Linked DNA regions of Homo sapiens: regions 1 and 3 are each linked to region 2. The links are contacts of gene promoters, found by promoter capture Hi-C in blood cells and fetal thymus (Javierre and others, 2016). All regions are on one chromosome and are shown on one strand. Each heading gives the region's core, a stretch centred on a gene start or on the middle of the fragment in contact. The rest is flanking DNA. Distances are from core to core; before and after follow the strand shown. Region 1 overlaps PIGL (phosphatidylinositol glycan anchor biosynthesis class L). Region 2 holds the start of NCOR1 (nuclear receptor corepressor 1). Region 3 overlaps NCOR1 (nuclear receptor corepressor 1).

What was found. The method cuts DNA at HindIII sites, captures the fragments that hold promoters and counts their contacts. A CHiCAGO score of 5 or more calls a contact.
Region 1: a contact is called between a fragment that was not itself captured here and the fragment with the promoter of NCOR1 in region 2, in 10 of 17 cell types (M2 macrophages, M0 macrophages, megakaryocytes and 7 more). The highest score is 12.6, in M2 macrophages.
Region 3: a contact is called between a fragment that was not itself captured here and the fragment with the promoter of NCOR1 in region 2, in 1 of 17 cell types (M2 macrophages). The highest score is 5.8, in M2 macrophages.

Annotation. Positions count from the first base shown.
Region 1 is chr17:16,293,126-16,297,435 of GRCh38, reverse strand. The region is part of intron 2 of PIGL (phosphatidylinositol glycan anchor biosynthesis class L); the gene reads right to left. Among named protein-coding and RNA genes, the nearest start is that of MIR1288, 13 kb to the right of the region's middle. The HindIII fragment of the contact is 8,760 bases long and covers 1-4,310 here.
Region 2 is chr17:16,213,857-16,217,917 of GRCh38, reverse strand. NCOR1 (nuclear receptor corepressor 1) reads left to right here and starts at 2,384. Exons shown (of 46, transcript NM_006311.4): 1 at 2,384-2,556. PIGL (phosphatidylinositol glycan anchor biosynthesis class L) reads right to left here and starts at 708. Exons shown (of 7, transcript NM_004278.4): 1 at 457-708. The coding sequence starts at 691. RefSeq lists enhancers at 683-932, 2,119-2,178, 1,756-2,671, 2,672-3,588 and a silencer at 2,449-2,918. The HindIII fragment of the contact is 4,024 bases long and covers 821-4,061 here.
Region 3 is chr17:16,132,219-16,136,363 of GRCh38, reverse strand. All of the region lies in intron 14 of NCOR1 (nuclear receptor corepressor 1), which reads left to right. Among named protein-coding and RNA genes, the nearest start is that of SNORD163, 19 kb to the left of the region's middle. The HindIII fragment of the contact is 2,661 bases long and covers 984-3,644 here.

The sequences.
Region 1 (4,310 bases), core at 805-3,304, 80 kb before region 2:
AGTAGGCTAAGCCTACTAATTCTCTGTTGTTCTGAGGTGCTAAGGTGCTGAAAGATAAACCTCAAAGAGGGGGAAGTTCATGGCTGCCTTCCATTTATCTTCAGAGAACTGGGATCTGCTCTTTTGAGGGGCGATGCAGGAAGAAGTGTTGCTCCATGCCTTTCTTTCGGTGGCTCCACCCAGTCATTGTGGGTGAGGCCAATCATTTAGGGAGGGACTTTGGACTGTAAATATCTGCTCTGTGATGTGACACATCTGATAAAGCATCATTACTTTTATGATCAAGTCCAAACTCCTCTTGGTCACACGTTCAAGTTTTCCCCAATCTATCTCCTATTTTGATTCACTTCCTTTCTCATTATTTGAAAGAGTCAATGAGATAACACAGGTCAGAAAGCATTTAAGAACTGTAAAAAGGGCCGGAACGGTGGCTCACGCCTGTAATCCCAGCACTTTGGGAGGCCGAGGCGGGCGGATCACGAGGTCAGGAGATTGAGACCATCCTGGCTAACACGGTGAAACCCCATCTCTACTAAAAATACAAAAAAAAAATTAGCCGGGCGTGGTGGCGGGCGCCTGTAGTCCCAGCTACTTGGGAGGCTGAGGCAGGAGAGTGGTGTGAACCTGGGAGGTGGAGCTTGCAGTCAGCCGAGACCGTGCCACTGCACTCCAGCCTGGGCAACAGAGCGAGACTTCAAGAACTGTAAAGAAATGTGTAAACATCAAAAGTGTGGCTGTTATTGCTGCATTAGCCTAATTTAAACCCTCCTTTAAAAAAAAAAGAAAGAACTCCCCAGTCTTTCTTTCTTTTTTCTTTTTTTTTTTTGAGATGGAGTCTCACTCTGTTGCCCAGGCTGGAGTGCAGTGGAGCAATCTCAGCTCACTGCAACCTCCGCCTCCCAGGTTCAAGGGATTCTCCTGCCTCAGCCTCCCCAGTAGCTGGGACTACAGACACCTGCCACCATGCTCAGCTAATTTTTGTATTTTTAGTAAAGACGGGGTTTCACCATATTGGCCAGGCTGGTCTCAAACTCCTGACCTTGTGATCCGCCCACCTCAGTCTCCCAAAGTGCTGGGATTACAGGTGTGAGCCACTGCACCTGGCCCCCAGTCCTTCTTTCTTGCAGTCCCTTGCAGAGCTCTTTGATGGCCACTTCTACAAGCGGTTTATGATTTCAAAGTGGGGTAGGCACCACAGGAGATGTGTAAGATGACTCATTGAGGTAAAGCAATGAATCACCAGGACTTCTATTTACCTGTTTTTCTGTTTACATTTATATTTTGTAGCTATTTTATAAGGCATCATATACCAACAGGGTTTAACATGTACACAGTTTGAATAAATAAGTACATAAATATGGAGGTGCAAGCTCAAATGTTGTTTCTTGCCATTAGGGGAGTGTGATAAAAATGTTTGGAGATCACTAGTCTAATCTACTCACTCTTCATTTTTCATTTTTTCTCCTGAATATTTTATTTTATTTATTTATTTTTGAGATGGTGTTTCGGTCTTGTTGCCTAGGCTGGAATGCAATGGCACCATCCTAGCTCACTGCAACCTCTGCCTCCCCGGTTCAAGTGATTCTCTTGCCTCAGCTTCCCGAGTAGCTGGGATTACAGGCATGTGCCACCATGCCCAGCTAATTTTGTATTTTTAGTAGAGACAGGGTTTCACCATATTGGCCAGGCTGGTCTCAAACTCCTGACCTCGTGATCCACCCACCTTGGCCTCCCAAAGTGCTGGGAGTACAGGCGTGAGCCACCACACCTGGCTGATAATTTATTTTTTTGAGACAGAGTCTTGCTCTGTCACCCAGGCTGGAATGCGGTGGTACAATCACAGCTCACTGGAGCCTTGACTTCCAGGCTCAAGTGATCCTCCCACCTCAGCCTCCCAAGTAGCTGAGATTACAGGTGTGAGCCACCAAGCCCAGCTAATAACTCAGTGATTTTTAGTACATGTATGGAATCTCTACATTTTATTTTACTAGTATTTTACATACATATATATATATACTTTTTTTTTTTTTTTTGAGACGGAGTCTTGCTCTGTCACCTAGGTTGGAGTGCAGTGGCATGATCTCAGCTCACTGCAACCTCCGCCACCTGGGTTCAAGCGATTCTCCTGCCTCAGCCTGTCAGTAATCGGGATTACAGGCGTGCGCCACCATGCCTGGCTAGTTTTTGTATTTTCAGTACAGACAGGGTTTCACCATGTTGGCCAGGCTGGTCTAGAACTCCTGACCTCAGATGATCCGCCCGCCTCAGCCTCCCAAAGTGCTGGGATTACAGGCTGCATATATTTAATTCTTGACTCTCCAACCTATCATAAGTCCCCCGATGGACGGATGTTACATGAGCCATTAATCAGTCAAGGTCTAACCAAGAAAATGGAGACCACCAGGTATTTCAGAAGGAATTTAATATAGAGACCTGTTTACCCACTGTATGGGAAGAGCTGAGAGGCCAAACAGGAAACAGTGAAACAACGCAGAGACTGGCCACAGCAGAAGGGCACCACCACCTCTAAGATAGGGGACAGCAGAGCCATGGAAGGGGAGCAGTGGTGGGAACTAGATGTCAGGAGAACTAGCTAGATGTCAGGGAAAACACCAACCTGCTGATGGACATGCCACTTAGGGTGGAGGATGGGGGAAATACCTGGTTCTTCCCTCTGCTACCTCCTAGTCATCCATCATTGCCATCTACTGGTCAAACCCCTCCAGAAGCCAATGGACATGGGAGCCTGGAAACTGTAGTTTCCATTGGAATAGAGCAAAGGCTTAAGATAGAGGCGATGTCTTACTCACAGCAGGTGTTCAATGGATACTTTCAATTGCTGCTCAGTCTTGGCCCTAAACCTTCAAAGGACAGCAGCAGTCTGGCCACCTGCCTCTCACTGTCTAAGAGTTTTCCAGCTTTATGGAAAAGCAATAACCTGCCAGGTGCTTGGTTATAGAGGGCAGCGGGGAGAACCGTACTGGGGGACATGGGGGCACCACAGGGCAAGCAGGATTCAAGGCTCAGGGAAGGGAGACATGGCAAGGGTTAATAGCCAGTTTCACCCCAGAAGCTCAGGGACAGAGTACCGTCCATGATTACAGTGGTCCAGTGTCACGAGCAGGCAATGTGATGTGGCAGAGAGAACATGGGGTAGGATGACACAGAACCCGAGTTCTAGCTCCCCTGCTTTCCATGTGACCTGGCAGGAGCTGCATCATCAGTAAAGATAAAATAATTCTGGGATGCACCTGATGACTGCCTGAGAGTCCTTCCAACTCTTAAGTCTAGGACTGTGTCATAAGCAAATGATTGATCTCACCCACTATCAGGGGGTGGAGCCACTAAAAGAAAGGCGTGGAGCAACACCTGTTCCTGTGAGCCTTTCTCCAAGTGAGCTTCCCTCACAGAGCAAAGACACTGCTATCAGGTATGACACAGATAACCTCCCAAAAGCCAATGAGAGACCAGATCTCTCATTGGACAAGGCCAAATTCTTTACTACACACCTTCCTTGTATTTAGAAACCTTCACTGAACTCCTCTACCAACTATAGCTTAGACTACCCCACTTCGTACCTGATTTGAATAGTATTCTATTATTTTCTGTTGTTTTGTGTGTCTCTTTAGCTAAACTTAAAATATAAGACTAGGCCTGTGCCTTATTCTTCTATTTCTTAGGTGGTACATGGTACAACTCAAGTCAATGAACAATTTTTTAAAATAAATAAACAATAAGTAATTGTGCTTCTACCCTATGCAAGGAAGTGTGTTAGGGGGTTTAACAAGCACTAGTTGCTTGACAGAAGTACTCTATATTTGGATGAACCAAAGGGAATTATACCAGCCACTGGGGGCTGATGCATGTAAGCAAGATGTTTGAAAGATTGCAATTTTTTTTTCTTTTTTGAGACGGAGTCTCCTTCTGTCACCCAGGCTGGAGTGCAGTGGTGCGATCTCGGCTCACTGCAACCTCCGCCTCCTGGCTTCACGCCATTCTCCTGCCTCAGCCACCCGAGTAGCTGGGACTACAGGCGCCCGCCACCACACCCGGCTAAGTTTGTTTTTGGATTTTTAGTAGAGACGGGGTTTCACCGTGTTAGCCAGGATGGACTGGATCTCCTGACCTCGTGATCCACCCACCTTGGCCTTCCAAAGTGCTGGGATTACAGGCGTGAGCCACTGCGCCAGGCCGAAAGATTGCAATTTTATAAAACAGATTATGGGTTAAAAAGTGTATACATTGGGCAAAAGGGCAAAATATCCTAATGGGGCCCCTTCCCCTCAATATAGGAAAATATAAAATTTGAT
Region 2 (4,061 bases), core at 1,135-3,634:
TAGCACAAGCTGCATTTTAAAGGCAGCAGGAAGGTCTTTTACTATCATTAGAAGTTAACTTTAAGGATTGAGCAGGCACGATACAGCATAGATTGTTTCGTGTGCTATATAGTAAGGTCAATATTCTTGCTCCTTCTACAAATAAAAAAAAGTTCCACAGAATAACAAGTACAGGTGGAGTTCCCAACGGAAATGCAGGTACTGAATACAACCAACTGCAACTGTTTCTCTGCTCCTCAATCCTGCTGGCGTAGTACGCGAGCTGCCGACGTCCCCCAACCCACCAGGTAAGCCGGCCGCTCCTGTCCCTAGGCTGTGAGGGGTTCAGAGGTAAGACCTTCGGTGTATTCACTTAGCTCCCTACGGAAAACTTCGAGAAGAAGGCGACTGAGATCGGTTAGCACTTAAATCCCTTTCAAAGCCCCGGCTCCCATCGCCCCTCCTATGGCCTCCTACCTGCAGAGAAGCAAAGCAGGTACACCCAGTGCCTTAGGCGGGCCAAGCCTAGCACTGTGGGAGCAAAAAACATGGCTTCATCGTCAGGGTGCGCTATGACCAGCAGGGTCCGGCTTTCGGCTCCCAGCCGTCCTCCCTGCTCCCGACTCTTCATTCGTTCTGAGGAGTCCCAAACCCAGAGGAAGCCCCATGCCAAGACCGCCAACGCCACACACAGGAGCCACATTGCTTCCATGATGGGTAAGCAGCACTGAGCCTGCGCAGTAGGAAAGGCTGCCTCTGACCCTGACTCCGGCTGGAAAACTTCACCGGGGAATGTTGGGTTCCGCTGTTAAGTCCCTCCCGCCGACATGCTCCGGAAGCTTGAGGTTTTAACGTTAAGGGTTCTCTTGTGTTTTAACACAGAAGTCTCCATGCCGTCCAGTTTCCTACCCTAGTCCTACCACACTGTACAATCGGTTTAAAAGGAAGCGTCTTATATATAAGCTCCCACTTATAGGAAGAGTTCCTTCCTCTTCATTTTCGAATTCATTTCTTAAAACTCGGGCCTTTCTCGTAATTATAGGGTTAGACAGCCCGTTATCCGTATGACAGTTTTCCAAAATAGCCAGTTACACCAACTTTGTTATTCCTTCTCACTTTTGGATGGCTTTCTTTACCTTTTTTTTTTTTTTTGAGAGGCTCTGTCGCCCAGGCTGGAGTGCAGTGGAGCGATCTCGGCTCACTGCAACCTCTGTCTCCCGGGTTCAAGCGACTCTTCTGCCTCAGCCTCCCGAGTAGCTGGGACTATAGGCGCGCGCCACCACGCCCAGCTAATTTTTGTATTTTTAGTAGAGAGGGGGTTTCACCATGTTAACTAGGCTGGTCTCGAACTCCTGACTTCGTGATCCGCTCGCCTCGGCCTCCCAAAGTGCTGGGATTACAGGCCTGAGCCACCGCGCCCGGCCCTTTCTTTTTTTTTTTTGAAACGGTCTGGCTCCGTCGCCCAGGCTGGAGTGCAGTGGCGCGACCTAGGTTCGCTGCTACCTCAGCCTCCCGCGTTCAAGCAATTCTCCCACTTCGGTCTCCCCAGTAGCTGGGATTACTGGCGCGCGCCACCACGCCCGCTTAATTTTTGTATTTTTAGTAGTGACGGGGTTTCTCCATGTTCGTCAGGCTGGTCTCGAACTCCTGACCTTAAGTGATGGCCCGCCTCGGCCTCCCTAAGTGCTGGGATTACAAGCGTGACCCACTGCGTCCGGTCGGGCCTGGCTTTTCTAAAGGAACGTATGCGTGCGGTTACGAGGAACCGTCGTTTCCCCAGCAGGGTGAGGCTGAGCGTGCACTTAACAGTCGCGAGGGCCACAGGCTCCTCTTGCAAGTAACTTAAGGTTAAGGAGCAACATCGTGGACAAATCGGCCTCGCCCAGCATTTCAGTGAGGGCTTGGTGCGAATTCCAGCCAGAGCCCTAGAAAGTATCTTGGGCAGGTCGAAATGCACCCCTCCAGCTCCCAGCCACGAGGGGACCGGCTTCCCTGTACGCAGCTCCGGCCAGAGGAGGCCGCCGCCGCCCCACCACGCCGCGGAGGGGTTTGCAGGGTCCCTTCCACGGCCTGGAGTTTTTCCTTTTCCCACGCCTGAGGAAGGCCTCGGGCGCGCGGAACAGACGGGCAGGCGGGGGGCGCACAAGCCCAGGGCACGATGGCAGCAGCGCTGGATCCGGCTGGGCGCTGCTCGGCCCCGTATCCGTCCGAGAGGACCGCCGCTGCCAGGCCTAGAGGAGACATGAAGAGACCGGGCGCAGCGCGACCCGGGAAGCTCCGCCGAGGTAGGAGAGGCGCCCGGCCAGCGGAGGGAGTTGGTCTCCCAACTCTCCGGAAGGAGGAGGAGCCGGCGCTGGAGCCGCCTTAGCCGCGGCTCCGCGGGCTGGGGGGAGGGAGAGGGGTTGAGTCAAGATGGCGGCCAAGGTGGCGAAGCAGCAGCCGCGGCGGCGGCGGCGGCTGGAGTGAGCGTCCGACTCGCCGCGCCGAACGAGGTCCCGGTGTAGGGCCGCGCGCCGTGGCCGCGTCCCACTCCTCAGGCCGGGGCGCACGTCGGCTCCCACGCTTAGCCAGCTCCCGGTGAGTAGGCCCTGGCGCCTGCAACCCCGGCCTCCGGGCTCCTGCTAGTCCGGGGGCTTCCGAGGGCTCCCGGGGCAGCAGCCGCTGGGACGGTTTCTCCGCCGGGCGGGGGGTGTCGCAGGCCTGGGCAGGTCGGGACCCGTCCTGGCCGCCTGGCCTCTTCCACTCGGCAGCCCAGGAGAGAGCCGGGCGCGGCGGGGAGCTCGGGCTGGGCTAGCGGAGGCTTATGGAGTTTGGAGGAAGAATGGGCTGTGGCCGGGCCGGGGCTGGCCCCGAGGTGTCCTGTGCGGAGGGGCGTGCGGAGCCTACAGGGCCTGCGAGGGAGAGCGGGCAGCCGGTGCCCCGGGTGGGGCCGGCGCAGGTGGCGGGCCTGGGCTCACTGAGGCGGAGTTGGTGGCCGACTTGGAAGTGTAGAAGGGGCTGCGGAGGTTGACAGCCATGGACAAGTGCGTGCAGAGTAAATTAGTTCACCTTTCTAACAGACCGCTTCAGGGTGTAATGGCGAAGGCTGGGTACTGGTGGAGATGGCAAAGATCCGAACACTATACCTTCTGCCGTTTATTGTTGGTGTTTTCTTAAGCGAAGTCCGTAAGTGCACCCCTTTTTGGGGAGAGAGGAATTTGAGAAACTGTAGTTGTGAAATCAGCCTTTATGGAGAGGAGACTGAATTCTTCAAATTAACTGGATCAGGAATAGTCATGTATTAAAGGAATGGATGGGAATAAGTGATATGGACGAAAACTATTTGCTCAGGAAGTGTCAGTTTTCTTTATGTGATGTTGCATGCTGCGGTGCCTCTTCCACAGAGTTAACCTTGGAGAGTAGTAGTATAGGTAATTCTAATCTTTGGGATTAGTATGTAAACCTGCATCAGATTTGCTTCTCTAATTATATCCTAATTATATTGAAATTTACATTCCTTGTGTGCACCCTGGTGAGGCAGTGATGGAAGGCTGAACATGGCACTGTGCAAGGAGCAACAGGCCCGGGATTTAAAAATGCCTACAAAGATTCATTCATTCGTTCAATATATCTTGATCAATAGCTGCTGATGCTGGGTCACATGTGATTGTCCTGTGGATAACTGAAGAGTTGATGGCATCGTTTAATTTTTAATAGCTTTTTAAAATGTTTTGATGTACCTTTTCATGAAGATATTTATTGGATGAACCAACTTGTACTTGCCCGGGCTCAGGAGCAGACCAATTTTAGAATGTTATTTAGACAAGGGTAACAATTACAGAAGAAGTAACCGCAAGTTACTGGAGAGAGAAATCTTGTATCTTTTTTTCTTTTTCTGTTAACATCCGGTGGAAGTTTATTTATTTGTTTTAATATTTATAGTACCCAGTTGCTTGGCCTTGCTTTAAGCACACCTGTTAATGGAAATCAAGATTAATTGTATATATGGATATAGCTATGTATAAAATGCTCACAGTAGGAACTGATTACTTACAATACTAAAATACTCTTTCCTTTTACAAAAGGCTTGCCATATGTTGAAC
Region 3 (4,145 bases), core at 1,065-3,564, 81 kb after region 2:
AATAGAAAAAATTAGCCGGGCATGATGGTGCATGCCTGTAGTCCTAGATACATGGGAGGCTGAGGTGGGAGGATGGCTTGAGCCTGGAAAGTCGAGGCTGCAGTGAGCCATGATTGTGCCATTGCACTCCAGCCTGAGTGACAGAGCAAGACCTCTGTCTCCAAAAAATAAAAAAGGCACTTTTACTAAAGGTAGTTTTCCAGAAGTATAAAACTGAAAAAGGTTAGTTTTCACAGTTGCAATTCAGTAATTTCAAAATGATTTTCCCCAAATAACTGATCAGCAGCTGCCATAGCTCACAGGTGCTTACCAGAGAGACTGCTGCGCTACTGCCACCACCACAGTTAATATGGAGGCTTTTGCTGTCTACACCCGGATAGATATTACAATAAGGACTTGCATGCATGAGCTCCGACACTGCAACGATTCATTAGCATTATTAAATCTCTTCTGGTTTTCCCACTCAGCCACCCTTTTGTTGGGGTGGGGTCTTACTCCCTTTCTTCGTTTGATAGCCCCTGGTTACCAGATATAGGTTATTGACCCAGTTCTCTCAGTATTCACAGCTATAACCTTTTTATGTTTTCTGGGTCATTATTTCCCACAGAACACCACCACCCCACATGATGTGATTACATGCTCTTTGGAAACAGTATTTCTTGTTTAAAAAAGTATAGCGAGTGTTTCATGAGTCAACTGTGTAAAATGCTGTTAGAGGTTGAGTAAGCCAAGGTGCCTTAGACGTGGATTTTCAGTGAATTAGTGAGGGGGCAGAAACACGGTTACACAGAGTTGAAGAAGATACAGAAGGTGAGGAAGTGGCATTAGTACAAGTGCAACCTTGTTTTTAAAATTTTTTTATAAAGTGGAATAGTGAAATGGGTCGGTAGGGCTAATGAGGATCAGAGAAGGGAGGATAAAGGGCATACTTGTACACTGATGGGTGCAGTACCGTAAGACAAAGGATGGGTGCTTGCCAAGCTTCATAAAGATGTACTGACAGAAAAGGAATAAATTGAGTGTTGACAGTGAAATAGGAAGCACTATTCCACCAGAGAGAAGAATATTGCCAGGGCTTTTCTTCCTGCTTCCCCTAAAGAATGTGGAATCAAGGTCCTGTAATACCCTTTTAGCTAGAGATCATAGGGACCATCTATGTTTTAAACAAGTTTCAGCTACAGTTTTTTTTTTTTTTTTTTTTTTTTGAGATGGAGTCTCGCTCTGTCGCCCAGGCTGGAGTGCAGTGGTGCGATCTTGGCTCACTGCAAGCTCCACCTCCCGGGTTCATGCCATTCTGCTGCCCCAGCCTCCTGAGTAGCTGGGACTACCGGCACCCGCCACCACATCTGGTTCATTTTTTGTATATTTAGTAGAGACGGGGTTTCACCGTGTTAGTCAGGATGGTCTCGATCTCCTGACCTCGTGATCTGCCCGCCTCGGCCTCCCAAAGTGCTGGGATTACAGGCATGAGCCACGGCGCCCGGCCTCAGCTGCAAATTTCTAACAGTTTTGTTCCTAATTGCCAAATAGTATTTATAACTTTATCTTTAGAAATTATATATGTTACTGTTTAAAATGTTCAGTCCTACATTAACGTAAGAGATAAGGTGATACTTATACAGTGTACCTTAACCTTTGCCAGATTAGCAGCCAGTTGCCCATGATGATAGAGGAGAGAGCTCTAGCAGGAAGTTCTATGGGGCACGGATGTTTGTTATTCTGAAACAGTCGTTTCTTTCCTAAAGTTGTCTGGGACACAGTTTCACTCCTCTCTGTGGCACACCGATCCTTGTTAAGATCCAGCCATGTTGGTGTTCTCTTCTGTACATTCTTGTTGCATGTTTCAAAGTACCTGTCTCAGAATGTATTTGCAGATGTGAGAATTGCCATGTATACCCTCACCTTGACCTGAGCCTTAGGTTGCTTACCCCCAGGTAGGCTCAGTTTTGGGTTGGTCAGCACTTCTGGTAGGCTAGCTCTGCCCTCATTAGCTTTTAAGTTATTGCTTTGAAGATTTTTCCTCCAATTTTACATTTCTCTGGTTGTTTCACGGGGAATTTGGGAGAGGTGTGAGTTAAATGAATTTAGACCATCATCTCATGCCACCAGATTTACCATTGTTTCTTAATTGTTTGTATACTTATTCCATTTATTTGTGTCAAAATAGAGGGGCAGCTTTTCAGAAATTAGGTGGTGTTAGTTTAAGGGCTCTCTGTGTAAAACTGAAGGCCTTTTGAGCTGATACCAGGTGAGAGAAGAAGCCACTGGGGTTTTGAGCAAAAGAGGGCTGCCAGATTTCAGTTGTGACATGATTACTCTGGTTGCTCTGTTGAGAATAGTTTGTAAGGAGACAAGAGAAGAAGCAGAGAAACCAGTTAGGAGGTTGTTTTAATAATCCCATTGACTTGGACTAGGCTACAGTGAGGAGGCGGGGAGAACGGATTAGTTTCTGGATGTACTTTTGAAGGTAAAACCACGAGATTTTGCTGATGGATTGATTGTGGGGATGAGGAAAGGACAATAATCAAGGAAAACAAGTTTTGACCTGTGGAGTTGCCATTTGCTGTGACAGGCATGACTGAAGGAGGAGCAGGTTTTGAGGGGAAAATCAGGACATGGCTGAATATGAAATACCTATTAGGTGTCTAAGCAGAGATCCAAATGAGGTCCAAGTAAAGTGGATAGTTAGACATATAAGTCTGGAGTGTAGGAAAAAGATCTGGGTTAAAGATATAGAATTTGCTATATAGAAAAAAGGTTAGAATACTTCTTTTTAAAAACAGAATTGAATTGCAAGGTTAAGATTTTCAAAATCTATGTATCAACTCCCTTGATTTTACCCTGGTGGATACAGAGATCCAACTAATTTGAAAATCACTTTACTTCTCTGCTATGTAACCAAGCTCTAGTCAGGAGGGTTTAGCTCAGGTGATCTCACAGCCATTATGGCATGTTTACTTAAAGATTCTTTAAAGTTCTGCTGAAGTTTATGCTTGATCCTGTCAATATGAGTTTGATTACTCTCCCTATCCTCTACTCCCAGCCTCCTTTTTGTAGGAAGTAATTTTTATTCAGCAGATAAATGTATAGTGTGTGGCTGGGTGCGATGGCTCACGCTTGTGATCTCAACACTTTGGGAGTCCAGGGCGGGTGGATCACTTGAGGTCAGGAATTCGAGACCAGCCTGGGCAACATGCTGAAACCCTGTCTCTATTGAAAATGCAAAAATTAGCCTGGAGTGGTGGTGCACACCTATAATCTCAGCTATTCTGGAGGCTGAGGTAGAAAAATCGCTTGAACCTGGGAAGCAGAGGTTGCAGCGAGCCTAGATCATGCCACTGCACTCCCACCTGGGTGACAGAGCAAGACCCCGTCTGGAAAAAAAAGAAAGAAGAGAGAAAGAGAAAAGGAAGGAAGGGAGGGAGGGAAAAAAGAAGAAGAAGAAGGAAGGGAGGGAGGGAAGGAAGGAGGGAAAGGAAGGAAGGAAAGCAAGAAAAGCCAGACTGGACGTGGTGGCTCATGCCTAGAATCCCAGAGCAAGACTCCATCTCAGGAAAAAAAAAAAAAAAAAAGTGTAGTTTGCTATTGATAGATTCTAAGTTTGCAAAGTTTGATTTTTTAAAACCTGTTGCTATAGGGAAGCTTAGTAGTGTTTACTCTGAAAATGAGTTTTAATCTTAGACTCATAGGAAAATGAGACAGATGTTTATATTTTTGTTAAAATTGTGTTCAGAGGTTATTCTTGGCAGGAATTTTAACTCTTCTCTCCAAATTCTGATAGAGACTACCCCAACCCATTTTTATAGTTCAGCTTGTTACCATTCCATGGAGAGTGAGTGTGGTTCTCTATATGTTTTTGTTGAAGTAATGAATACATATTGGAGATTGGAAGCCAAAAACCACTGTTGAATGTTATTATTTAGGATCTAGGATTATGCCCTACGTAATAGTTTGATTCTATGTACATTGTTCTTGCTAGCAGTAAGAGTTTCTTCCCCTAGTAAATGCTGCATTTTTCCAACATAAACTGCCATCTGGTAAGTCTGTCACTGTGCAGGTAGAATTACTGTGGTACTTGCTAGTTACCTGCAGTAAAGCAAGTCATGTTAGAAACCATATTCTTCATTTCCAAATGCTTGATTACT